2 separate regions of the Homo sapiens genome follow, and region 2 is linked to region 1. Evidence: promoter capture Hi-C in 16 types of primary human blood cells and fetal thymus (Javierre and others, 2016). All regions are on one chromosome and are shown on one strand. Each heading gives the region's core, a stretch centred on a gene start or on the middle of the fragment in contact. The rest is flanking DNA. Distances are from core to core; before and after follow the strand shown. Region 1 overlaps KDM2A (lysine demethylase 2A). Region 2 holds the start of RPS6KB2 (ribosomal protein S6 kinase B2).

Evidence for each region. The method cuts DNA at HindIII sites, captures the fragments that hold promoters and counts their contacts. A CHiCAGO score of 5 or more calls a contact.
Region 2: a contact is called between the fragment with the promoter of RPS6KB2 here and a fragment that was not itself captured in region 1, in 1 of 17 cell types (naive CD8 T cells). The highest score is 5.2, in naive CD8 T cells.

What each region holds. Positions count from the first base shown.
Region 1 is chr11:67,253,098-67,255,678 of GRCh38, reverse strand. KDM2A (lysine demethylase 2A) reads right to left here. Exons shown (of 21, transcript NM_012308.3): 19 at 2,068-2,226; 20 at 1,261-1,476; 21 at 1-805. The coding sequence ends at 624. Among named protein-coding and RNA genes, the nearest start is that of GRK2, 12 kb to the left of the region's middle. RefSeq lists enhancers at 523-1,023, 1,024-1,524, 981-2,180. The HindIII fragment of the contact is 5,283 bases long and covers 1-2,581 here.
Region 2 is chr11:67,427,163-67,429,743 of GRCh38, reverse strand. RPS6KB2 (ribosomal protein S6 kinase B2) reads right to left here and starts at 1,250. Exons shown (of 15, transcript NM_003952.3): 1 at 1,121-1,250; 2 at 722-762; 3 at 504-624; 4 at 149-217. The coding sequence starts at 1,198. RefSeq lists enhancers at 5-772, 1,207-1,456, 773-1,540, 1,557-1,706. The HindIII fragment of the contact is 16,232 bases long and covers 1-2,581 here.

The sequences.
Region 1 (2,581 bases), core at 34-2,533:
ACAAGCACGAGTGCTGGGCAGAACCAAGCTCAAGGGAGAGGAAAGGAGGGAGAGCACAGTTAAGGACGTGAGGTTTGGGAGATCTCAACAGCACCAGTGTGATCGGCACGGGTCTGGGACTCCTGGGGCTGCTGGCCCCTCCTGCGCAAGCCGGGAGAGTGTGATGGAGGAGAGACGCGCACTGGACACCACAAGAACCTGGCCATGGAGACAGGGCCGTTTTCTTCCCTGGGAGTTTGCTCAGAACCAGGCACTGCTGGGGACCATGGATGGGGAGGAGGGGCACAGGGCCCAGTGCAGATGAAGGTTGCACAAACACCCCAAACTGAGAGCCCGGCCTCCTGGCAGGCGAGTAAGCGAGCAGGCGCCTCGACAGCACAGCCTGTGCTTTCCCCTCAGATCAATCTGCTACTCCCTTTTCCTTAGGAGGGAGAGGAGCAGGCAGATAAGCCTGGTGTCCACCACCCTCTCTGCCCCACCTGTAGAGGAAGGGCTCAAGGGACAGGAGAGCAGAGAGGGAGTGTGACGCTGGCCTCAGAGCCCGTGCAGGGTCGAGGAGAGGCTCTCCTCGGTGGGGAGTCAGGGGAAGATCGGTTTCCTGTTGAATCTGGGCTGGGTGTGTCTTAGCTGATCTTCTGTATCAGCTTCTCGTCAGACAGGCAGTAGAGGCTGTTGATGGACAAGTCTGAGATGAAGTGCTCGCAGGCTTTTCGAGTGATCTGCTTGCATCCTCGAAGGTCGATCAAGGTGACGTTGGCAATGCGCCGTAGGTAGATCAGGGTCTGGTCTGTCAATTTATTGCAACCTGTCGGGAAAGTGGACATAATGACAGTGCTCACATACACACAGCTTTCCTCTGCCATTCAATTCCTGTAGCCGTCTTTCCTTCAAAATGCTAAACAAAAGCCCTCTTTGTCCCACAACTACCTGGCTCAGAGACCAGAAGTGCCATCAGCACCTCCAAAGGGACCCTGCTGCCTCACTCCCATCACCATATGACAACAAGCACAAGGGCTGCAAGGCTGACCAAACTCCAGCTGGATGTTGGCTGCGCAGACAGGCAACCGACTTAACTACTCAAGGCCTCAGTCCCCCATCAGTTAAAAAAGGGATAGAAATCCATGTCCTTGTCCAGATGTGAAGAAATGAGCTGATGTGGGTCAATCAACAGACCCAAGGTCATTCTGGTTTACTGATCAAGTTCCAGGGAGGGCTGGAGGCAGGGGGCACCGCTGATTATGAACAACTGTAGCGGCATACCTGCCATATTGAGCTCTGTGAGAGAGTAGCGAGTGGAAGACCCGACAGCAGTGAGTAGATTGGAGGACTGATCTGTAAGGTGGCTGCAGTGACTGAGGTCGAGTCGAGACAGGAGGGGCATGTGGCGAATTATGAGGCGAAGCGTGGCATCTGTGATGTCAAGGCCTGCCAGCCGGAAGTCGGTCATGTTCCGGAGCTTGCTGCGATTGTCCTGACCTGTACAGGCAAGAGAAGAGCCTAGATCAAAACTCTCAATTCTCTAATCCAGCTTCAAGGCTCCAGGCAGCAACAGCTACTTGCTGGCCAGGCCCCCTTGAAGGGGTTAAGTAGAACTGCCCACACCCAGCCATGCCTTCAGGGTGTGAGCACTGGGTGTAGGCAGTTTCTAGGAAACCAGACAAGTTTTCTTTCTTCTCAAGCTGCTAGATTATGCCTCATGCACACAGCAAAAGGCTATGTGCAGAATGCTCCTCCCCTTCCAATACCACCACACTTTTCTAGACCATCATGCAAATAGCTTTTGACTCCACCTCCACCATAAAGCCTTCTCAGACTTTTTCAGGCTTACACTCTCTGGGCCCCAAACTCCACCAACTCACAAAATGGACTTACTCCATTGTTTGTAGGTAGTTATCTGCTTATAGTTACCCTATTCTTGTACACAGTCCATCATTCTGTTTTCATTTTGTGCTCTTCTATTCTTCCACAGCGTCATATCTGAGACTACCTTAGCTTCTGAAGACGAGGTCTGTTTGGAAGACAAAGCTACCCCAAGACAAGCACAGAGAAGTCAGGTCCAGAGCATACCTGGTTTATCAGCCGGTGGAGTAAGCAAGTCCCGAATTTGAGGGTCCTTGATTCCTACTGCCCACCGAAGATCAAGGGTCCTGAGAAGGGGGCAGCTGGAGGTGCTGAGGGCAGAGACTGCAGACCAGGAGCAGCCTGCTAGGAGGAGGTCTTTCAGTCCTGCAATGGATGGAATGAGACATGTAATAATACACTGTTTCCCAGCATACTCAGAGCCGTAACGATCTGAGCAAAGTGAACAAACTTCCAGTCTAATAGGAGAGAAGGACTATGCCTAATCTTTTAGTCATCCAGCTCAAAGATTTCCATGGTATCCTATACTACATCTTCTAGCTTTAGTGGTAAATTGATTGCTTAGTTCCCACCAGAGCAATACAAGAAGGAGTGACTTCCTGTCTTTCTAAGAGCTCAAAATGCTGAAGAGAACAAGGGCTTATAAGGAGCTGACCAAAGTAACATCTGACTCAAATTTCCTCTTTAGTGGTTATGCTGAGGAGAACTGCAGGGCTGGCAG
Region 2 (2,581 bases), core at 1-2,500, 170 kb before region 1:
ACAATACACATCACAACAGACAATAAACCAGCAAACGCCAAAGTCAGGGATCCTCCTCCACTGTGTTCCCTGCTGTCTTCCCAAAGCCTGGTACAGCATGTTGGGAATGGCAGCCACACAGTATTCGTTGGCTGAACGAGTGACTCACCTTCCTTAGGACTTTCATGGCATATATTTTGCCCAAGTTGGTGCCTTGCACCTTTCGCACCTGGAACACCTGTAGGGCAGGGGAGACAGGATCAACTTCCCTCTCCACATCCTATCTTCAAGAAGCCCCACCCTGAAGCTCTGGCTTTGGGATCAGGAGGCCTAGGCCCTGCCAAGGGTGGGGCAGTGAAGATTTCAAGTCCGATTGGAGAGGATTTGGCCTTCCCTCCTTTATGTTTCTGGCTCTGAATCCCATTAGAGGCCCTGCTGATTCACAAGTCTAATTTGTTTTGAGAACCCTTTGCTGCCTCCAGATGGAGGCTGTGAGGCCAGGAGGAGGGTGCGCCCGCCCCTACCTTGCCATAGCCCCCCTTGCCCAGCACACGCAGCAGCTCAAAGCAGTGGGGCCCGATGCGCTCTGGGCCAACGTTCACGCTGGTCTCAGTCAGCTCCACCTCTTCATAGTGTCCCACAGGCCTACGGACACAAGGAGTTAATGAGGACAAGGCTCCAGTGCTCCCCAGTTCCCCTTCCCCACTCCATTCCCCCCTCCCCCAACACGACCCTCACTCACTCTAGGCCAGCTGCCCTCAACTCGGCAAGGGGACATGCGTCCTGTGAGAAACCGAGGGGTAAGAGCCAAGGAAGGTGCCAGGATACCTCCCCGCTCCCGTTCAGGTTGGACTGCGTGGCCCAGGAGAGAAGGGTGTCAGGGATGGCAGCTAGTAGGGGATGGGTAAGAATTGGGAAGAAACCGAAGGCAGGAAAGGGAGAATCGGGAGAAAAGGCTGGGGTTCTGGAAGAGAGGTCGGGGTGAGGGTGGGATCAGAACTTAATAGAGACCGGGATCTGAGAAGGATCTGGGTCTGCAAAGAGTCGGAGCCCGCTCTGGGCGTGCGGAGCCGCCGCTCCGGCCTCGGCTGGGTGACAGGATCGGCTCCAGGATCCAGTCGCGCCAGGGCAGGGCACTCACCGCGGGGCTGAGCTCTGGCTCGCCCTCGCCCTCGCTGCCTTCCTCCGTCTCCAAATCCAAATCAAACACGGCCGCCATGGCGGCGCCGGCCCCGCGGGCCCGTCGGCCCGTACCTGGCCGCGCACTGACTGACAGTCCCGGACCTAAACATCATCTCTCCGCGACGGCAGCTGCGCGCGCCGGTGACGCAAGGGATCTTACTCCCCCTCCGGAAAATCGCTTAGCCTGGTGGGGAACAAAGATGGCTTCCGTCGCAAGGCCTCTCGGGAATTGTAGTCCTAGAGTGGCGAGGCGCCTAGCCTTCAGCCTGCAGAATCCTTTCCGCAGGACCCTCGGTCTTCCCAGCAAGGCTTTCTGGGAGCCCGTTTTGGTTCTACGGTGTTTTGAGTTTGGATGGAGCAGGGTCGGAAGTGTATGCAGGTGTGAATGTAAATGCAATCCCCAGCCCTGTTGGAGACGGGTACTGCCAGGCCGGCTGCGTGATGAAAGGCAGGTCGCGTTGCTTTCGGTTCACTCCAGAAAGGGAGGCGGCTGCATCAGGGTCTCCTCAAAGTGCCTCTGGCTCGAGGACCCTGCAAATCGGAGCATTTACTGAGTGGCCAGCTCACTGCCAGGCTATGTTGCCAGGTTCCCGCCTTAAATAGGGTTTTGGGGGTCAGTGATAGACCTGTAAATATGGGATTTTGTTGGCGTTTACTCCCTTCTTAATTTAAGCACATTTAGGCACCTGGTACAGAATAGACACTTCAAAAAACGTTGTTGAGGCCGGACACGATGCCTCACGCCTGTAATCGTAGCACTTTGGGAAGCCAAGTTGGGAGGATCACTTGAGGCCAGGAGTTCAAGGTTACAGTGAGCTATGATGGTGCCACTGCACTCCAGGCTGGGTGACACAGTGAGATCCTGTCTCAAAAAAACAAACAGGCCGGAGGCGGTGGCTCACACCTGTAATCTCAACACTTTCGGAGGCCGAGGTGGGTGGATCACTTGAGGTCAGAAGTTGGAGACCAGCCTGGCCAACATGATGAAACTCTGCCTCTACTATAAATACAAAAAATTAGACGGGTGTGGTGGCGCGCACCTGTACTCCCAGATACTCGGGAGGTTGAGGCAGGAGAATCGCTTGAACTCGGGCGATAGAGGTTGCAGTGAGCCAAGATTGCACCACTGCGCTCCAGGCTGGGCGGCAGAGTGAGACCAAGTCTCAAACAGATAAAACCCGAAAACCTGGCTGGTCACGGTGGCTCACACCTGTAATCCCAGCACTTTGGGAGGCCGAGCCAGGCGGATCACCTGAGGTCGGGAGTTCAGGACCAGCCTGACCAACATGGAGAAACCCCGTCTCTACTAAAAACACAAAATTAGCTGGGCATGGTGGTGCATGCTTGTAATCCCAGCTACTCGGGAAGGCTGAGGCAGGCGAATCACTTGAACCTGGGAAGCGGAGGTTGCGGTGAGCCA